Linked DNA regions of Homo sapiens: regions 1 and 3 are each linked to region 2. Evidence: promoter capture Hi-C in 16 types of primary human blood cells and fetal thymus (Javierre and others, 2016). All regions are on one chromosome and are shown on one strand. Each heading gives the region's core, a stretch centred on a gene start or on the middle of the fragment in contact. The rest is flanking DNA. Distances are from core to core; before and after follow the strand shown.

The links. Contacts are between HindIII fragments. The CHiCAGO score rates a contact against its expected background, and 5 or more counts as called.
Region 1: a fragment that was not itself captured here is called in contact with the fragment with the promoter of MMS19 in region 2 in 1 of 17 cell types (neutrophils); the score reaches 6.5 in neutrophils.
Region 3: a contact is called between a fragment that was not itself captured here and the fragment with the promoter of MMS19 in region 2, in 1 of 17 cell types (naive CD4 T cells). The highest score is 5.1, in naive CD4 T cells.

What each region holds. Positions count from the first base shown.
Region 1 is chr10:96,575,052-96,577,751 of GRCh38, reverse strand. It overlaps TM9SF3 (transmembrane 9 superfamily member 3), which reads left to right. Exons shown (of 15, transcript NM_020123.4): 2 at 923-1,118. Among named protein-coding and RNA genes, the nearest start is that of TM9SF3, 11 kb to the left of the region's middle. The HindIII fragment of the contact is 1,119 bases long and covers 794-1,912 here.
Region 2 is chr10:97,496,999-97,499,698 of GRCh38, reverse strand. MMS19 (MMS19 cytosolic iron-sulfur assembly component) reads left to right here and starts at 1,277. Exons shown (of 31, transcript NM_022362.5): 1 at 1,277-1,426. The coding sequence starts at 1,315. It overlaps UBTD1 (ubiquitin domain containing 1), which reads right to left and starts at 775. Exons shown (of 3, transcript NM_024954.5): 1 at 426-775. The coding sequence starts at 495. RefSeq lists silencers at 156-355, 366-1,125 and enhancers at 1,366-1,535, 1,896-1,945, 1,622-2,152. The HindIII fragment of the contact is 10,400 bases long and covers 1-2,700 here.
Region 3 is chr10:98,137,286-98,139,985 of GRCh38, reverse strand. All of the region lies in intron 1 of R3HCC1L (R3H domain and coiled-coil containing 1 like), which reads right to left. Among named protein-coding and RNA genes, the nearest start is that of R3HCC1L, 4.0 kb to the right of the region's middle. The HindIII fragment of the contact is 1,445 bases long and covers 610-2,054 here.

The DNA.
Region 1 (2,700 bases), core at 104-2,603, 920 kb after region 2:
TATAAACACAGTTGTTTCACATGCTAAGCACTTAGTAAATAATTGTTCAGTGAATTAATGTCTGCACTATTAGTTGATTTAAATGCATCCAATGTTGTCTTTAATTTATACTGCTACTTAGAATTATTAGTTTTAAAATTACCATGGTAATCAGTTTCCATAGAATCATTGGAACTTTAAACTTGTCGAGATCTTAGAAATCTTTGACAGGCCTCCCACTTGTACCTTGGAACTACTCAAAGTCATTACTGACCACACTTCAGATTTAGCCATGTATAATATTCACTGATATGTAGTTCCATAATTACTTATTCAAAGAAATATGCATATAGTGCATGTCTTTCAGGCTGCTAACAAGATAGAATGTTGGCTTGAATGGACTTGTGGAGGTTCTATAGCAGTCTTCTTCCTTGTCCTCTGTAGTACTTTGACCAGTGGCTGTGTGAAAGTCTCGCAAGGAGATGAAATTTTATTTATGCTTGCTGGCAACATTAGGTTTTTTTTTTTTTTTAATTGATTAACATGAGGTTCTGGATAAACTTGATTTTGTTTCCTCCTTCCTTGTCCATGTTAGCATGGTGAATCATGCTGGTTGCAGGTTTGCCACTATTTGATAGTGTAAATGTAAATAATAGACACACTCTTATGAGCTATTGGGCTTAGTTCAAACACTGTCTTCTATAAAACAAGTTTGGAAAAGGTGTATCTGCCTGAGACTACAATCAGAGGATATAATTTTAAAATTCACAAAGTTTCATTTTTAAGATGTGGACATTCATCATCAGATTAAGCTTCCAGTATTTATTTTATAGCTTCCTGAACAGAGATGATGCACTTTTGTTTAGAACACACAACAAATATTCCCTTAATTTGAATTAGTGTGTTTTTTTTTTTTAATTCTTGTTTGCTTTTCTTGTTTCAGTATCAAGATAAAGAGGAAGTTGTCTTATGGATGAATACTGTTGGGCCCTACCATAATCGTCAAGAAACATATAAGTACTTTTCACTTCCATTCTGTGTGGGGTCAAAAAAAAGTATCAGTCATTACCATGAAACTCTGGGAGAAGCACTTCAAGGGGTTGAATTGGAATTTAGTGGTCTGGATATTAAATTTAAAGGTAAGTAAACCTTAATAGTCCTTACAATGCAATTTGGATTGTAGACAAGGGTTTCATATTTTGGCACTATTGACACTGGTGTTGGATAATTCTTTGTTGTATGGAGCTGTTATGTACATGTTAGGATGTCTAGCAGAGTCCCTGGCCTGTACCCCCCAGATGCCAGTAGCACCTTCCAGTTGTGAAAACCAAAAAAGTCACCAGACATTGCTAATTGCTGTCAGTTGAGAACCACTACTTTAGACTCTAAAATGTGTTTTAGTCTGTAAATGAGGTGTATTGCATTTAGGAAAGTATATTAGTAATTAACAAAGATTTCCTTTGAATATTTATAAGATAATAAAATAGATAATTGTTAATAAAATTGTATTTCCTTAACATATTTCCTTCTGAAAAGTGTTGTCTAGTAAACCCCCTATTGATTAGACACATGTGGCCCGGGAAGACCTTCATGGATATTTAACAAAGTAATTTCTGGAGGTCTGAGGCTGTAATGGGATGCGTGGATACTTAAAATTCTTGTGTGACGCCTCAAATTCAAACTTGTACCATAGGCTTAACATGTATTATTTATCAGTGTTGTATTAATTTATCCTGTTAATACCTATAGGATATTTAAATTTTAAGTCAAAGACTTGTTAAATTTGGGGAAAATACTTCATCGTATCTAGTTATTATGCAGGTATCCATTTATCAGGTCCTTTGAGTGTGTTTATACTTTTCATTTTTCTCTGTGAAGTTTGTCAGAGAGTGTATTTCCTGCACAGGCATTTTTAGCATGGTGAACAGAAGCTTGAGTAATTGAATTTTTGCAGGATCTTTGATTAGGTGTCTTGGTTTTTGAATACATCATGGATCCTGTAAACAGGAGCTTTGGATTTTAATCCTCCTTTTTTTTTTTTTTGGTACTGTATTCATTTTAGTAAAATTGTTTACTGCAGTTTTGACTTCATTGTCTCCATGTGTAAGATGAATAGTAACTGACTTCTGGTATTTTTAGTACTAAAGATGTTATTATTTAGTACTTTGAGGAGAAGAATGTCAGTGAGATTTTAAAGATAATGTTACTTTAATTTCGATTTGTTAAATTTTATTCTTGTTTTTAAAATTGCTCAGTTATTGTTGAAAATAGGTATACCGTATCTATTTACATTCTCCCCCCTCCCCATCCCCCCGTTTATAGTCTTTGGGGCTTAATTATAAAATTAAGTTGTAAATTTAAACCACAGTGGCATGGCCTGTAATTTTATGAATCACTGTAAACATACCTTTGAGGCTTGTGTTTTAATTTAATTAGGTAATTTAAGTATTTAGTCACAAATAACAAGAAAACTTAAACTAGAAAATGTGATCTTTGAGATTTGGTACTATATGTAATCGTCTGCTTTCTCTTTTTCCGTATTTGGTGTGCATTTCTAGTTTATTAAAGAGGAACCAACAAGAGAGAATAGGCAGAACTCCTGAGTCCTACTTTGCTACTGTGTACAGATTTCATTAGTTTTTGAGATCCTCACCCATATTTACTAAAGAAGAGTACTTAATTCAGCAATCTTTTTTTTTTTTAATACTTTAAGATCTGGGG
Region 2 (2,700 bases), core at 28-2,527:
AGGAGCGACTGTTCTCGCCTCGCTCGCTCCGAGTTCTGGGGACGCCTGGCTGCCCGCGCCGTGCCCCGACGGGCCGGCGTCCGACCCCGGCCGGAGCTGCCAGGCCAGCGGCGCCCTCGCCCCCGGCCTCCTCCCGATCCGTCGGCCCCGCTGCGGTCTGCAAACATTTCCTGCCCCCACCCCCACCAGGAGCTACCCAGTTGGAGAGAGTTGGTCGCGCAGCCGGCTCAGTGCTCGCAGTTGCCCCAACTCAGCTCCCCCGGCCGCCCGGCGCTGGGGAGCGGCCCCCTCTGGCTGCGGAGCAGCCCATCGGGGAAACCCAAGCGCCAGCACCAGTGGGGAGTCCATCGGTAAGCCCAGGACTCGGGCGAGGAGGGGGACAACTGGCGGGATGCCCGAGGCCCTGCTCCCTTCCCCATCGTTACCTGCTCGCTTGCGGGGGTGTCCCGGGGCTGCCGGCCTCTCCCGGCGCTGTCTCCCCACGCAGTTGCCCATGCTGGCTCCTCAGCCAGTCCCCATGCACCGGAGGCGGCGGGGTGGTCGGCTGCTCAGCGGACGGCGGCGTCCCGGGTCAATGGCTCCGGCCGCCCGGCATCGGGCGCTCCCCGATCTCCCCCCGGGGGCGCGCTCAGCCCCAGCGATGGCTCCGCCAAAACTTTGCGGGCCAGGGGAGAGAGGGAAGTGGCAGACTCCCCAGCACGGTCCCAGGTGGCCGGGCCAGGGGGGCCCGCGACGGTGCCCGGCCGGAGACCAGCTCCGCTGGAGGGGCGGAGAGAGGGGGCGGGCACCGCCGCAGCTACTCCCGGCTCGCTCGGGGCACCAGGCAGGGGCCGGCCCCCTGGAGCCTGTCACTCACCTGCCTAACCCCGCCCCAGGCCGGCCCCTCTCCCTTCCGCCGGCTCGCGGTGCCCGCGCCGCCGCCACCACCCGCCCCAGGTGCGCATGTGACCGACAGCACCGCCCCCTAGGGCTGGGCCTGATTTTCTCATTGGCTTCCCCCGTGGTGCGTACCGCCCCTCTCCCCACCCAGCCAGGTGCCCGCCCCGCAGCCCGTCTCCCGGGGAGCCGGGCTGGGAATTATTCGCCCTCAATCGCCTCCGGCTGCGTGCCCAGCAGCCGCCTTCCCTCTCGGTGCCACCGCCCCATTTCAGGCCCCGCCCCTCCCTGGAACTGCCTAGGCAGAAGCCGGCAGGCACGTGACCCCGGCGCCCCGCCCCCTTGCGCTTCCCCGGAGATTGGCTCGGGAGGCGCATGCGCGGAGAGCCCGTCTCGAGCCACCGCCCATATCCCCTCCCACGGTCTCTAGTTCGCGTTATGGCCGCTGCCGCGGCTGTGGAGGCGGCGGCGCCTATGGGTGCCCTATGGGGCCTCGTGCACGACTTCGTCGTGGGTCAGCAAGAGGGCCCCGCTGACCAGGTGGCTGCAGGTACGGCAGACGGCGCCGCGCGCCTTCCGCATGGGGGCCAACAGGAGGGAGCGGCCTCAGTACAGGCGCCGGGCGGGAAGGGAGGAGCGGGGTGACTTTGAGAGATTGGTCTCAAGGCTGGTTAGTGAGCACCGCGAGGTTCAGAGCCGTAACAAGTTAGAGAGTTGCCTGTGTCTTCCTTAAAACCATTTACACTTCTCATCTCCCTGTAGCCAATTATAGGGAATCATTACATTTTACAGATGAGGAAACTGAGGCTCAGCGAGGGCAAGAGGACTTGCGCAGGGCTGCAGACCAGGCAGGAGGGGGAGGTGGGACTCGGACCCAGGCGTTCAGGTCCGAACCGGGTGCTCACGCCACGAAGCCATGCTGTTTGTGGGAGGTTGACGTGTGGAGGTGCATCCTCGCAGCGTCCGCTCCCGTCGCGTGGCATCCTGGGAGTGGCAGATGGCCCCGCGCTCTGACTGGCTGGAATTAAGAGGAGTTGAGGAGACGGGCCAGGAGGAGCTGGAGATGTTCTGGGTGTCCTCCTTAAGACTTTCTCTCCGTTTCTTGCTAAAGTTCTTGATTAGTTTGCTCCATGACGTTTTATGTGGCGTTTGTTTTTGTCTTCTTCCCAGACCCCCACTTTCCTGCTTTTGACCAGTTCAGAGATCTCTTAGTTCAGACAGCTTATCTAAAATTAGAATAAAACGATTTCCAGGCTTCCGTGGAGTTCTGAGACTTTGCTCTTCTAGGAAAAAAAAAAAACTACTAAAAAGTTATTGAATGTTAGGAGGCCTTCAGATCTTGGGTTTAAGTAACAATATAAAATTATCTAATGAGTAGTTTTTTTAAAAAAACTTTGGAAATTTCGTATGCTTGGAGAGAAGTAAGGACACATTTCTCTTGGATATTGAGCGTATTAACCTTTAGAATATGTAAGAAAAGAATAGTGAATCTGCTAGAAATATAATACTTTGTTCGTTAGCAGTATTCCACTTTAATTCAATCATGCCACTATTGTTGAATACATATTATTCCCCAAACATGATGCAAAGCAATAGGAATATAAATACAAATTAGGTTAGATCTGTGCCCACCAGGAACTTATAGTATGCTGGGAGAGGCAACCATTCTGTAAGAGGTGTGTGCAGCGTAGTTTGGAAGCATCAAGGAGCAAATACCTGGTGCTGCCACCAAACTTAACATCTTACAATTTTATGAAATGTAGTGTGTTATCAGTGTTTACAATTTACAAGTACAGTGTCTTACCAATGTCATTTTCCCTCATA
Region 3 (2,700 bases), core at 83-2,582, 640 kb before region 2:
CCTCATGTTCAGTTTGACCCATGTTATTTGGAAACCTCACGATACTAGATACTAGAATCTGTTTTCCAACAGTGCTTCTCTGCTTCTGTTTTTATCCCTAGTCCCAATCCAGCTATATCTGGCATTAAAAAAAAAGATACAAGAAGGACAACAAATATTAATAAAACTGAAGGGTGAATTTGAAGAATGAAAAACTATACAGAAGGCTAGCATGAGACAGTGAAAAATGGACACCACAGACTCGAAGCAATTGGTCCATGTTTTATTAAGAGAAAAGAAAATTCTCTCCAAATGCAGGCTTACTGCTGCTAAGTAACACCCTATAACTTTTCCTCTATCTAATGCTTTGACAACTGGAATTTCTCTGTAATTCAATAAGCTCTTAGGAGTTCCCCAAGCTTCATCCATCCTGCTGGGCTCATTACTGGATAATTCTAAATGTTTTCTGCACTAGCGAAGAGCACATTTCCTCGTGGGTAGCACAACAGAAGGAGGGTACTCTTTCAAGGCATGAATAGCCTAGCTCCATTTCTTCTCACTTCTCCTATAGGTGAGAAGTCTACAACAAATATAATTCAACAACTAAAAGAAATGTCTAAATTATAAGCTTAGGTTACTGGGGTTGTCAAAGATCATCCTACAGGTCACGAGTTTTATACATAGTGTGACGGCTAATCATATATTTATATAAGCTAATGAAAAATCTATACTTTTGCTTCTGGCACTAGTTCATTTACTTATGTCTAATGAGTTGCATTAGGGCCAAATAAAAAATATACCAGTCTTTTCATTCATTCTGGTGAGATATTTGTGAATAGTTAGCTTATGGAGCTAATGAGGACAAGGTCACAGACTCAAACTCCATGCTGGCCAATTAGCTTTGCTGTGTGTTTCTAGGTTCCATGGTCACAGTCAACAACCTTAACCTTGGCTAAGAAACACACTGATCATTGAAGCATTAGGGGAATGAATATAGATGTATCAACAAAATCCATACCTTTCAGAAAAAAAATAAAAATTAAAAATAGTAATAACAACACCACCCCAATCTTTAATATTATACTAAACCTGGCTAATATGTGCCTCATTCGAATAATCTTTAATCTTCTCAACCATGCAGGGTTAGTCTAATCTGTCTTCCAGATGATGAGAAACTGAATTCAGAATGATCATATGAACCAAAGTTACATCTAGTGAGCCTGGATTCAGACCTTGGTCTGTCTTGACTCCAAAGCATAGGTTATTGCCACAATGCTACATGGCCTCTCCAGAGTGCACCTCAGTGACCTAGGACAATCAACAAAATGTTCCTATTCAGAACTATTCAGCACACTCATTACTGAGCATCCACTATACATACTCACACACTATAGATGAGAATTAGCATACCTTCCAAAAATTCCTTTTAAGTAAAAAACAGTCAAGGAACAAAAGTGTTTAATTGATTTTTTTTTTTTAATAAAGATGAAGTCTCACTTTGTTGCCCAGGCTGGTCTTGAACTCTTGGCCTCAAATGAGCCTACCTCAGAGGATCTCAAAATGCTGAAAGTACAAGAGTGAGCTACCAGGCCCAGCCAAAAGTGTTTAAGATTAAAACATAAAGGAAAAATTAACACATTATAGCATACAAAGTAGATTTTAATGGAAGTGACTTTCTATTGTCATAGCTTTGTATACAAGTCTGGTGTGAAAAAATAGTTATCTTGCTGATTCATAACTAAAGGTAAGAAAGAAGCTGGCAAAACATAGCACAGGCATACCACATCAAAAAAGAGAGTAAAGGAAACATTTCCTAAGCATCTGAATCTGCAGATATCTGGTAGTCAACATGGCACTTGAAGGAAGTAAAAAATATATACTTCAATTCTAAACTCCAAGACTTTGCCTTGACCAACAAACCATTTTTCTCTATAAGGCTTTCCTCCTTGGTTTTTCTCAACTCTCACTCCCTGCAGATACATACATACCAATGCCATCATTAGCATCAGTCACTAAGAAATGCCATCTTGAAAAAATGAAGGTCACCAAGTCTCCCAGACCCTATCCAATAAGCTTAAATTTTAAAGTCTAATAGTCTGGCTTAAAAAAAATAAAAATAAAAATAAGGCAGGAAGACAAAACTGTTCCATAAACGTCTATCCTAGTCAATATCTGAGTCATAAAGATAGATAATTGCTCTGCTACAAGCTACAATGTACAGAATTGCATTCTTACTACAGGTTGTAAATGAAGCACCAGTTCAATTTCAACAAACTAGGTACAAAGCAACATTTGGAATCTCTAGAAAAACAGAAACACAGCAAAGCCCAATAACCTTGCACAACAGCATTTTAGGAACCTCTAAAGTTGAAAAAAAATCTAATATAATTTTTATATAAAATGCAATTGCTAAAAAACAAACTGCAATCTGACAACTTCTATTTACAGTATTTTTTAAAGTTTGTGAATTAAGGATGACTATCCTCATTTTACAGATAAATGGAATTTCAGGAAAATACCTAAAATTATCATCATCACTATTATCATAATCATCAATAACAACAGCAACAAAATAATGAGAACTTTATTTGTACCCAGCACTAGTAAGCCATTTATGGTCACATCTCATTTCATCTTTGTAGACACCTTGTGACATAATGCCATTTACCTCCATTTGAGAGATTAGGAAACAGGCTCAGAGAAGTCAACTAATTTGCCCAA